Regions from separate parts of the Homo sapiens genome. Here all the other regions are linked to region 1. The links are contacts of gene promoters, found by promoter capture Hi-C in blood cells and fetal thymus (Javierre and others, 2016). All regions are on one chromosome and are shown on one strand. Each heading gives the region's core, a stretch centred on a gene start or on the middle of the fragment in contact. The rest is flanking DNA. Distances are from core to core; before and after follow the strand shown.

The links. The method cuts DNA at HindIII sites, captures the fragments that hold promoters and counts their contacts. A CHiCAGO score of 5 or more calls a contact.
Region 2: a contact is called between a fragment that was not itself captured here and the fragment with the promoter of SLCO4A1-AS1 in region 1, in 2 of 17 cell types (neutrophils and monocytes). The highest score is 7.4, in neutrophils.
Region 3: a contact is called between a fragment that was not itself captured here and the fragment with the promoter of SLCO4A1-AS1 in region 1, in 2 of 17 cell types (monocytes and neutrophils). The highest score is 6.0, in monocytes.
Region 4: the fragment with the promoter of MRGBP here is called in contact with the fragment with the promoter of SLCO4A1-AS1 in region 1 in 12 of 17 cell types (neutrophils, endothelial precursors, monocytes and 9 more); the score reaches 10.3 in neutrophils.

The regions. Positions count from the first base shown.
Region 1 is chr20:62,665,047-62,667,994 of GRCh38, forward strand. It overlaps SLCO4A1-AS1 (SLCO4A1 antisense RNA 1), which reads right to left and starts at 1,575. Exons shown (of 4, transcript NR_024470.1): 1 at 1,339-1,575; 2 at 814-964; 3 at 1-451. SLCO4A1 (solute carrier organic anion transporter family member 4A1) reads left to right here. Exons shown (of 12, transcript NM_016354.4): 6 at 1-42; 7 at 1,334-1,529; 8 at 2,699-2,864. The HindIII fragment of the contact is 12,915 bases long and covers 1-2,570 here.
Region 2 is chr20:62,856,213-62,859,160 of GRCh38, forward strand. It overlaps TCFL5 (transcription factor like 5), which reads right to left. Exons shown (of 6, transcript NM_006602.4): 4 at 1,183-1,426. Among named protein-coding and RNA genes, the nearest start is that of TCFL5, 4.1 kb to the right of the region's middle. The HindIII fragment of the contact is 1,257 bases long and covers 879-2,135 here.
Region 3 is chr20:62,834,352-62,837,299 of GRCh38, forward strand. COL9A3 (collagen type IX alpha 3 chain) reads left to right here. Exons shown (of 32, transcript NM_001853.4): 27 at 1,570-1,602; 28 at 1,836-1,982; 29 at 2,127-2,181; 30 at 2,732-2,914. Among named protein-coding and RNA genes, the nearest start is that of COL9A3, 19 kb to the left of the region's middle. RefSeq lists an enhancer at 1,438-2,637. The HindIII fragment of the contact is 341 bases long and covers 1,378-1,718 here.
Region 4 is chr20:62,794,990-62,797,937 of GRCh38, forward strand. MRGBP (MRG domain binding protein) reads left to right here and starts at 1,484. Exons shown (of 5, transcript NM_018270.6): 1 at 1,484-1,682; 2 at 2,121-2,242. The coding sequence starts at 1,535. RefSeq lists an enhancer at 81-627 and a silencer at 1,251-1,790. The HindIII fragment of the contact is 13,279 bases long and covers 1-2,948 here.

The sequences.
Region 1 (2,948 bases), core at 325-2,824:
CCCAGTTCAGCCTGAGTGCCTCAGAAGCTGCCACCTTGTTTGGTGAGAAAACTGAATCTTGGGGGTCCTCTGCTTTTATGTCAGTTCTCAGAAACAGAGTCTTCAAGGGCATCTTCTAGAAAGACCCAGACAGGGCACATGGCAGTGAGTGCCCTCCCACCCCCGCTGCCAGAGCAGGTGTGGAGAGCGCCACGGGGGCTGAGCGACTCTGTCCACAGGCCGGGAGAGTGGTGGTCCTGCCCTCTTTGTGGGACATGCTCCGTAGGTGGAAGGGTCCACGGTGGGCTCCACCCCCTAGCCACCTAGTCTTGGCTTCTGTGACTTGGTGCAGGAAGGGTTTGGACCTGGCTGTTCCATGAGCCAGGCACTGGTGCCTCAGGACCTCCTGGAACAGTGCAGCTGGGGGTTTCTCGGTGCCAGAGGCAGGCTGGCCTTCCCAGGCTGGGCAGGTCTGCAGAAAGTGGGGACCCCTCCTCAGAGCTGCTCCTCCTGCCAGCGTTCACAGAGTACCCTGGGCCATGGCAGAGGTGCCAGGCATGTGGGCCACCACCGCCAATCTACCGCGCTCTACCCTTCCAGGGTCCACTATCTGGACAGGAAGAGGGCATCAGATGAGGGCTCCCCTCCCTCCCCCACAGGCCCATCCTGGCCTGGCCCCTCTGGGCTGACCTCACAAGCCCACATTCCCACACTCAACAGCCCCCCAGAGGTCAGCTCTACTGCCCCTTGGAGAGCCTCCCCACCTGTCCCCCCAAATCTGTCCCCTCCCCACCTGTCCCCCCAAACCTGTCCCCTCTCCACCTGTCCCCTCACCTGTGCCCTCCTCACTTGTCAGCCCAGAAGCTAGATGCCAGCTAATCGCAATTTTTTACTGTTGGTGGCCACTCAGGCTTCGACAAATGTCCTTGTCACAGCCTGCAGGGACTCGGCAGAGGCCCCTGGGGGAGGAGGGGGTGTGGCTGCCCTGGAGGGGGGTCAGTGGAGGAGTCATTGGCTTCCCACTGGGGCAGGGGCCGCTGACCTTGGAGCACTCTGGGCTCTCCTCCTCCCCCCGCCCCGCCCCGCCCCCCCGCTCCCCCTTCCCCTTCCCCTTCCCCTTCCCCTTCCCCTCTGAGGCATCCCCGCTGTGGGCTCTGGACAGAGGTCCCTCCTAGGGCTCTATCAGCGCAACAGCTAAGCACTCAGGTGTGGTGTTGAGTGCTGCCATGCAGGCAGGAATTGATCCCTCTATGCCTCAGTTTCCCCACCTGTAAAGTGGACCCGGCTGATCCACCACCCTCTCCCACCACGGCCCCCTGCCTGAGTCCCTGGCTGAATCCCTCCCTCTCCCCAGGGTACCTGGTGGTGCCAGCGGGTGGTGGCGGCACCTTCCTGGGCGGCTTCTTTGTGAACAAGCTCAGGCTCCGGGGCTCCGCGGTCATCAAGTTCTGCCTGTTCTGCACCGTTGTCAGCCTGCTGGGCATCCTCGTCTTCTCACTGCACTGCCCCAGTGTGCCCATGGCGGGCGTCACAGCCAGCTACGGCGGGAGGTGAGGGCCAGATGGCACCTGGGTACGCGTCGGGGCCCCAAGCACCCGCGGTCCCTGGGCATGGAGGAGGAGTGGTGCAGCACTTGGGAGAGGTGGTTTTGAAAAGGGCTACGTCACAGGACAGCGGCAAGGGCAACACCCGCTCAGCAGGGCACCCGGCAGCATCCACGTGAAAAGGCACCATGCCAGCCCCCAGCAGTGCCTGCGCTTGGGTCCCGGCTGTGCCCCCGGGCAGTCATATGCCTCTCTGGGCCTCAGCACTCTGCTCTGTAGCTGTGTCAAATGGAACAACAGCCCTAGTGTTCGGGGTCCTTGAGGCTGGTCTCTCGGTGACATAAAAAGTGTCCCAGGATGTGCTCCTGGAGTTGCCATGTGCTGGGAGTGGGAGGGACACCTGCTGGTCAGGTGGCAATTAGGGAATATCCAAAATACACGTAGGTAGCCTGCACCTCGGCCCTGCCCTGCGGGCCCCGGGAGTGCACCTGCAGGTGCCGTGCAAGGCCGAGAAGCACAAAGCAGCCGTTGTGGCATTATCGGAACCTAAGAGTCATCAGGGTGGACGGGGTCACTACGCTGTCCTCACAACAGAGGCCCTGCCCACAAAGGAGTGGAGGAAGCTCATCCTGGGCCACTGCCAAGACATACTGTGAAGTGGGAAAAAGGAAGGAGTTGGACAATGGGCGCAGTGTGCTCTGATTCAAGTGAGAAGTGCAGATGTTTGTGACTGCCGAGGGGCGTGTACGTGCAGACGACCCCTGCAAATGCACAGCCGGCCTGTGGCTGGAGAACCGAGGACTGGGGTGGGGCTGGGGCCACGAGGCTGCCTTTGTGTACTTGGCGCTTTTTCTTTCCTAATGTTTGTATTTGATCCATATGAATGTGTTGCCTGTCCAAAAACAAATGAACTAGGGAAAGGGGCTGTGCATCAGGCGGACGGTGCTGGGGGGCATGGGTGTGCCTTCCTTGCGTGAGGAGGAAAAACCATTCTATCACCAGAAGGCAGTGCCCAGTGTGAGTGCCCAGCGTGCTGGGGGCGGTGCAAGCTTGGCAAGTTTGTAGACCCGAAATGCAGGCTGCATGGGGACGAGCCCCATGGCTGACCCTGTGCCTGCTGGGCGCCAGCATGGCTCTGGCCTGGACCCTACCACTCGCTTGTCCCCCCTCTGCAGCCTCCTGCCCGAAGGCCACCTGAACCTAACGGCTCCCTGCAACGCTGCCTGCAGCTGCCAGCCAGAACACTACAGCCCTGTGTGCGGCTCGGACGGCCTCATGTACTTCTCACTGTGCCACGCAGGGTGCCCTGCAGCCACGGAGACGAATGTGGACGGCCAGAAGGTGAGTGGAGCCGCTGCCTACCGCCCCTGTCCTCCCCTGGACCCTGGGAAGGGGCCCCCGTGCCTTCCCCTTGTAATCGGAGCT
Region 2 (2,948 bases), core at 257-2,756, 190 kb after region 1:
GCACTATTCCAGCCTGGGTGACAAAGCAAGACTCCGTCTCAAAAAAAAAAAAAAAAAAGAAAAAGAAAAGAAAACCCAATTATAATAGAAAAAAATTAACCACTCTTAATTCTACAAAGAAGGATACCACAAATAAAATCTACAGACAAAACCACTTAAATAACAATTTTAACCTCTTCCTTCCCAGCAATCTTAAAAGAACCAGGCAATAGCCAGGAGCGGTGGCTCACACCTGTAATCCCAGCACTTTGGGAGGCCGAGGCGGGCAGATCACGAGGTCAGGAGATCAAGACCATCCTGGCTAACATGCTGAAACCCCGTCTCTACTAAAAAATACAAAAAAATTAGCCAGGTGTGGTGGCAGGCGCCTGTAGTCCCAGCTACTCAGGAGGCTGAGGCAGGAGAACGGCATGAACCCGGGAGGCGGAGCTTCCAGTGAGCAGAGATCGCGCCACTGCACTCCAGCCTGGGCGACAGAGCAAGACTCCGTCTCAAAAAAAAAAAAAAAAAAAAAGAACCAGGCAAAACTTGCTGAACTCAAGCTGGCTGGTAAGCAGCAGTTACCAAAACAGCCTGACCACTCTCCTCAGAAAGGCCTGCAGTCAGGGCTGGCCCTTAGTGGAGTCTGCAAACCTAGATTCAGGGAGTTAAGAGTGCCCCCAGAACCTACACTGTGCAAACGATATGGCTGACACTGAACAACTGCTTTCCTTCTGGGAGACTGGACTGTGGTTGCATGCATGGGGGCAGTGCCTACGTGACACGCCCCTGGTCTCTAGCGAGCTTTCCTGGTTGGCAACACCTCACCCACGTTTTCAGACCACATGGCTGGGGGCATGAGGGGCAACCTGCCTGACTCCACAGGGCGCGCTCTTAGAAGCTTGCACCTCAGCTCCTGCCTTCTCCCCACGCGCCTTTGCTGATCGCACCTGGCATCCTTTCTCCATAGTAAGTCACAGCCTGAGAGTGACTGCATGCGGAGTCCCGGGAGTCCTCCTAGTGAGCCAGCGAGCCTGGGCATAGTCTGGGGGATCCTTGATCCATCTGGGAAAGCTAACGATGCTCCTACCTGCTTTATTCCCTCTGAACGCAGAAACGGCTAAGGATCACTCATCTGTGATAACCATGTATGACTAAGGTAATCATATATGAGTCAGCCTGACAAGCAGTCACACGTATTACCTTCTATCTCTTTCCATTCGGTTATGCCTCTCCCTACGTTGAGACCTTCCTCCCTGGGGCCCACTCTGGGCCTGCTCCCCCAGGTTTGCCTGTGAGGACTCCGAGGACTGCCAAGCGCCTTGTGTGGCGGTGGCACCTTCGCCCACATTCTGAATCTCTCCAAGGGCTCTTCGCTCTACATTTGTGTCCAACTGACGCATTCTACTCCGATTCCTCTTCAGTGCTTGTTTGCATAGCGCTGCTTCTTTGCGAAAGAAGAAAAAAGTGGTTTTTAATTTTGTATTCTTATCTCAATTAATGCTGAATACAGTTTTGGCCTTTTCAATCCAAGATATAAACATTATTGGGTAAGCAGCACAGAGAACCGAAACACAAAGAGATGTACTAATGCAGTTTTTCAGCATCAGCAGGGACCATGAAGCCCAAGCCTATTTTATACAACGAAACTGAACAAGAATCAATCATCACACTAAATACGTTTTCCAAGTGCTATGCAACCAATATGACCTCATCCAAAGCCCCTCTTTTTAATTAACAGGTGTTATCTATGAATACAGAAAACAAGAAGTTGTTTACTTTTTCTAAAGGTCAGAATGGAAAAAAAAAAACAACAACAACAAACCACCTGGACATATTTCCTCCCAAAAATATTTTCTTTATATACAATTATTCTAAGAACAAGAAAAAAAAACAATTATTCTAATATGACAGTATTTTTACTGCAATGCTCAGAACAAAACTGCAGCAGCGTGTGTGTGTGCCCTCGCCGCAGAAGTGGCTCTCCTCCCCAAAGCAGGAAGAAGTAGCGTCCGAGCTTTTCTGCTGCGTGACAGGCTATGCCACGTGTGCGTCAGTGGAACTGTATCCATCAAAGGACCACAGGCACGTGACTGGCAGGCGTGCTCATGTGCACGCGTATGCCACACAAAGCACCCATTTCAGAAGGATGATGAAGCTTTCAGCAGGAGAGAGAGGAATTCGGTCGTTTTGGTGATATTTTATTCCTTAACCTGAGTAGTCGGCACAGAGGCTGCTTTAATACTCATCTTTGTATCTTACAAATGTGAACATATACTTTGGCATAAAATTTTATAGGGAGGAAAAGGAAGGACTGACATGGGAGAAGGCGGTAGCTCTTCCTCCCCATCTTGTCTTCACCAACTCTTGGAAAGCTAAGTGTAAGGAGTGTTCTTTTTTCGGGTCACTTCACAAATCAGTTTCCCAGGGAGGAAGGGGCTACGCAGGTGTTTCCCAGGGAGGAAGGGGCTATGCAGGTGTTTCCCAGGGAGGAAGGGGCTACGCAGGTGTTTCCCAGGGAGGAAGGGGCTACGCAGGTGTTTCCCAGGGAGGAAGGGGCTACGCAGGTGTTTCCCAGGGAGGAAGGGGCTACGCAGGTGTTTCCCAGGGAGGAAGGGGCTACGCAGGTGTTTCCCAGGGAGGAAGGGGCTACGCAGGTGTTTCCCAGGGAGGAAGGGACTATGCAGGTTAGCGCAGCAGTGCCTTCAGCAGTGACTTTATTTCCAAACTTTCCGAATCACCTTACAGCCTCTCCCTGGCAGCCCTAATAGGGTCCTCCTATTAGCAGCCACCTATCCAAAGGCTTTCGGCAGATGTTAGATGACTGCCTCACTCATCGAGTATAACATAAGGAAAATAAAAAACTATAAAGTACTTTCAGTAACTTGAAAATAACTGAAAATTTATGTAAGTCTATCACTTTACTGTTAAGAAAAAGCCCTCAAACGCAACGTTCTCACACCAAGATT
Region 3 (2,948 bases), core at 298-2,797, 170 kb after region 1:
CTAAAACTCAGGTGAAGCATAAAATTACGTTCTTGTTTGAGTCCCTTGATAGGCACATTTCTCCTTCTGGAGGTAACAAATGGAGCAGTCGTGAGTCCGAGGGAAGGACGGCCTTTCTGGCTTTCCCGAGGGGGGTTTTCATCTATGATTAAGTCTTTCCTTTGCGTCTGGGTGAAATAGAAACAGCCTAGCCCCAGGGACCCCAGTCTCTGGCAGACCCCCACAGCCCAGTGTAAACTTTTTATGCCTGGGGACAAAAGACCTCAGTTGTATGTGTTTCATTTAGTGAATTCTTTTTTTATTTTTTTTTGAGACGGAGTCTTGCTCTGTCCCCAGGCTGGAGTGCGGTGGTGTGATCTCAGCTCACTGCAATCTCTGCCTCCTGCGTTCAAGCGATTCTCCTGCCTCAGCCTCCCGAGTAGCTGGGACTACAGGTGCCCACCATCACACCCGGCTAATTTTTGTATTTAGTAGAGATGGGGTTTCACCATGTTGGCCGGGCTGGTCTCAAACTCCTGACCTTGTGATCCGCTCGCCTTGGCCTCCCAAAGTGCTGGGATTACAGGCGTGAGCCACCTCGCCCAGCCCATTTAGTGAATTCTTAGACAACACTGACAAATGGACCCTGGAAATCCCAGAAGCTGCCCTACGTGGCCACTGTTGCTGGTGGGGTGAGGGGCAGAGCCCCTTGCAGGCGGAAAACCTAAGGCTTTGCTCTCAGCTACTCGCACGGTCGGGCTGTGTGAGGTGACCCCCTACCCTCCTGGCCTCCGCGGAGCATGCTGTCTGGGCCCGGTCGGTCCCTCTGCTGTGCGGTTAGACTGTGTCAGTCTGTATTCTGCAGCTGTAACAGAACACCGCAGCTTGGGTAGTTTACAAGGGAAAGAGATCCATGTGGCTCCTAGTTCTGGAGGCTGGGAAGCCCAAGACCGAGGGGTGCATCCATCGAGGGCCTCCCCACTGCGTCATTCCATGGTGGAAGGCAGAAGGGCCAAGAGGAGGTGCCAGAGAGAGAAAGGGGCCCAACCCATCCTTTTCATGAGGAACCCACTGCGGAGACAACGGTGTTAGTTTACTCCGGAGAGCCGAGCTCTCAAACCTAATCACCTCTTAATAGCATTGCAGTGCAGTGGCCGTTCAATTGCAGCATGTGTTTTGGAGGAGACATTAACCCGGCTGACTGTGTGTTGACGCACCTGGGGCCAGTCATTCCTGAGGACCCAGCTGGAGGGGGTTCCAGGGTTTTAGGGCAGAGAGGTTCAGCCCAGCATTAGGCGTGTTAGTAAGAAAAAGGAATGGAAGCAAAGTAAGCGTGTGTAAGAGACAGCACCGTGCAGCTAACAAAGTCACTCTTCCCAGGAAAGTAAGTTTTTAAAAAGCTTCAATCAATCAGTGCAATCACAGAAATATAAAAAATGTATATAGAAGAACGGAAGGAACCACTGTCAATATTTGGATGTAGTCTAATAGCAGGTGTGTGGATGATTTGATTTATTTTATCCTCAACTGGCTACTTCCCACCCACCCAACAATACACTTAGTTCAAACACACAACTTTTCTCTTCACAGGGTCCCAGCGGCCTGGTCGGACCCAAAGGAGAGGTGAGTGCCCGGCGACTGTTCCGATGACACCATCCATGGGCGCCTGCTGGCTTCCTGCCCACCTCTGGGCAACCAGGCAGCCCTGCAGGGCACTGCCCAGATCCGAGATGTAAAAAAGCTTGCTCTGGTCAAGGCTGGGCAAGACGGCTCCGTGCCGGCTGGGAAAGAGCACGTCGGGGTGGCTCTGGGCTCCTGGGCTCGCCCCTGACCCACCTTCCTCTGTTCCTCTGCAGTCTGGCAGTCGAGGGGAGCTGGGCCCCAAAGGCACCCAGGGTCCCAACGGCACCAGCGGTGTTCAGGGTGTCCCCGGGCCCCCCGGTCCTCTGGGCCTGCAGGGCGTCCCGGGTGTTCCTGGCATCACGGGGAAGCCGGGAGTTCCGGTACGTCGCTTTTCCGGCTTTTCCAGCTTTCACAGGGTTGAGATCGTGTTTTTTCCGGAAGGAAGTTACTTTGCGGGGTGACGGTGGGAATGCCTCACCGAGGCTGCCGCCCCCATGCTGACGAATGTGTGGGGTGAATTCCAGGGGAAGGAGGCCAGCGAGCAGCGCATCAGGGAGCTGTGTGGGGGGATGATCAGCGGTAAGTCAGCCACGTGCACCGGCTGCAGCGGGGCCCATCCCCGCCTGGGGGTCCCGTGCCTGGGGCTACACAGAAAGCCTTCGTGCCACTGCTTTCCAGCCAAAGTGAGCCCCTAGCACTCACCCCGCCTGTTAGCCCTTGGGGGTCCACGTCCGCCTTGGCGTCTGCCTGTCCTCTGCGCTAGAGGATGGCCCACGCTCCCGCCCCGGATTCAACCAGATTCCCAGCACGCAGCAGACGCCCTAAAGCCTGCTGAATGCAATGGGTACAAGAACAGCGGAGTGTGCCCCTGTGGCTGGCAGGGCAGGTCCCTAAACACCCCCAAGGGCACTTCCTTCACCTTCCCACTCAGGCTTCTCAGGCTCCAAGGGGTTGGGGGTCCTTTCTAGCTCCAGCATTCATCACCCCAAAGCAGTTAAACCATTTTCCATCAATCAGAAGGAAAACTTGCTTCTGGAAGACAGCACCGTGTAGATATTTTATGCTTTACGTAACAATACTTCTGATGATCCTCTCTCGAGTAAACGCCTGCACCCTTGTTTTCCCAAAGAACAAATTGCACAGTTAGCCGCGCACCTAAGGAAGCCTTTGGCACCCGGGTCCATTGGTCGGCCCGGTCCAGCTGGCCCCCCTGGGCCCCCAGGACCCCCAGGCTCCATTGGTCACCCTGGCGCTCGAGGACCCCCTGGATACCGCGGTCCCACTGGGGAGCTGGGAGACCCCGGGCCCAGAGGTGAGTGTTTGACCCCATGACACGGTCACCCTGC
Region 4 (2,948 bases), core at 234-2,733, 130 kb after region 1:
TAGTGAAACCGCGTCTCTACTAAAAATACAAAAATTAGCCGGCCGTGGTGAGCGCCTGTAGTCCCAGCTACCCGGGAGTCTGAGGCAGTAGAATCGCTTGAACCCAAGAGGCAGAGGTTGCAGTGAGGCGAGATCGTGCCATTGCACCCCAGCCCGGGCAACAGAGCGAGACTCTGCCTCAAAAACAAACAAAAAAGAAGCCGGTCCCCATCCGCAGTGACTCGCGTTTCCCTCCCCCTCCCCCGTCCCCGGCAACCGTGCATCTACTTTCTATTCCTATGGAGTTGCCAGTTCTGGCTCTTCCTGTGAATGGATTCCCATGCTGTGTATTTTCGTGTCTGAATTCTCTGACTTTCGTCTCAGCCCGCACCCACGCTGCCGCAGTCCGCGCTCGCTGCTTTTAGGCTGAACGCGGCTGCGCCGTGCGGGTGCCCGCGCTCCGGGCGCCCCTCGCAGGTTCAGCCCCGGGTTGGGGGCGGCGCTTGCCTCGCGGCTGCGGGTCCCAGCCTGAACCTGTGTCTTGTTCCACTGCCGCGGGCGCCCGCCACGGAGCTGCTGCTTCCTAGGGAGACGGTTCCATCGTTGAAGGAACGGCCAGACTGTCTTTCGCAGCAGCGGCCCATCTGACCGCACAGCACGACCGCACGAGGGTCCCGAGCCCTGACCCTCGCAGCACTCGTCACCCCGGCCGCGTGGTTGTGGCGGTCTCGGCGGGGCAGGGGGTCCCCACGCGGGCTGATTCTAGTTTCGCGTGACCGATGGTGCTCATTAGCCATATCTGTACATCTTTTTTTTTTTTTCGAGTCGGAGTTTCGCTCTTGTTGCCCAGGCTGGATTGCAATGGCGCGATCTCGGCTCACTGCCTCCCGGGTTCAAGCGATTCTCCTGCCTCAGCCTCCCGAGTAACTGGGATTACAGGCGCCCGCCACTACGCCCGGCTACTTTTTTTGTATTTTTAGTAGAGACGGGGTTATACGATGTTGGCCAGGCTTGTCTCGAACTCCTGACCTCAGGTGATCCGCCCGCCTCGGCCCCCCAAAGTGCTGGGATTACAGGCGTGAGCCACCGCGCCCGGCCCATCTGTACATCTTCTTTGGAAAAATGTGTATCCAAATCCTTAGCCGTTTTATAGTTAGATTGTCTTTTTATTATCGAGTTATAAGAATTATTTATACCTTCTACAAGGAAGTTCATTATCAGATATAGGATTTGCAAATATTTTCTCTCATCTGTGGGTCGTCTTTTCACTTTTCTGATGGTTTCCTTTGAAGCACAGACTTTTTTGTTTGGGTGCAGTGTATTTCTTACTGTGCTTTAAAGAGGAACACGTTTTAAGAACCCCCGCGCGGGGCGGAGCAGGGCGGAGTCCCCGGCGGGAAGGGACCCGAGACCTCGGCTGCGCCTGCGCCGACGCCGGCGCGTGAGCCCGAGCGCGTACCCGGCGGAGCGCGCGCCCGCCCCCGAGTGCGCCTGCGCGGAGCTCGTGGCCGCGCCTGCTCCCGCCGGGGGCTCCTTGCTCGGCCGGGCCGCGGCCATGGGAGAGGCCGAGGTGGGCGGCGGGGGCGCCGCAGGCGACAAGGGCCCGGGGGAGGCGGCCACCAGCCCGGCGGAGGAGACAGTGGTGTGGAGCCCCGAGGTGGAGGTGTGCCTCTTCCACGCCATGCTGGGCCACAAGCCCGTCGGTGAGCGCCCAGGCTGCGGACGCGCGTGGGGGCGGGGCGGGCAACCGGCGGGGCGGGGCGGGGCCTGCGCTCGCGACACCCTCGCCCCCACGCTCCCCGCCGAGCCCGGGCCGTGACACCGCCGCCACACCCGTCCCGGGACCCCCGCCCCCTCCCACGCGCCCTTCGGACCCCGCCCCGGACCCCGCCCACGACCCCTACCCCCGTGAGACCGCGAGGTCCCAGCCCGCAGTGCCCCACCCCCACCCCCGCCCCGGGACAGCCCACCCCCTCCCACACACACCACCCAGCCCTGCCCCCCCACAGCCCCTCCACACCCTGGCCCTCCCCATCTCTCCGCAGCCACCCTTGCCCCTCCAGTCCCCAGGGCAGCCCGTCCCCTCCATCCCCTTTCTCCTCACCGCTCACCGGTTATCCCGCCGCCCCTCCTCCCCTCAGGTGTGAACCGACACTTCCACATGATTTGTATTCGGGACAAGTTCAGCCAGAACATCGGGCGGCAGGTCCCATCCAAGGTCATCTGGGACCATCTGAGCACCATGTACGACATGCAGGCGCTGGTGAGCCCAACCGCCCTCCCTGTGCCGCCCGATGGGGGCACGAACCCGCACACCGCTCTCTGAGAGTCAGCCTGAGCTGGGCAGAGGCCCCTCCATGTCTGCTGGGGTCTGCTGGGCAGAGTAGAGGCCCCTCCATGCCTGCTGGGGTCTGCAGTGAGCTCTCAGGGTCAGCCTGAGCTGGGCAGAGGCCCCTCCGTGCCTGCTGGGGTCCCCTGGGCAGAGACCCCTGCAGTGAGGCTCGTCCTTAAGGAGGACATCCCGGGGCTCCAGAGCCTGTCATGGAAAGCACAAACACAGTGCTAGCAGCTGGCTAGCTTTTCAGGGGCTCTGCTTTAGACTGGGTGCTGGGCCAGAGTCTCCAGCTGAGACCCTGGGGAGGGAGGGAAGGATGCAGAGTCCCGGGCCCTTAGGCCATTGTCAGCCTCCTGGGAGGCCCCCGAAGTGCTTTAGGCAGAGGGTGACCCTATCTGAGTCACACCAAGGTGAATTTGGTGACTTCTGTGGGAGTCAGACAAGTAGAGTTCCAGTCCTCGCAGAGCTTGGAGCTGGCACTGTGTGACGGGCGAGCGGGTTAACTAGGTAAGCAGGGTGGCCAGAAGAGACAGGTGGGTGTTCCAGGCCCTGTGGCAGCAGGAGGTGGTGGGTCCAGGAGCTCAAAGAAGGTGGTGTACTTGGAGAGTGGGGTGGGGGTCAGGGGTCAGGTGAC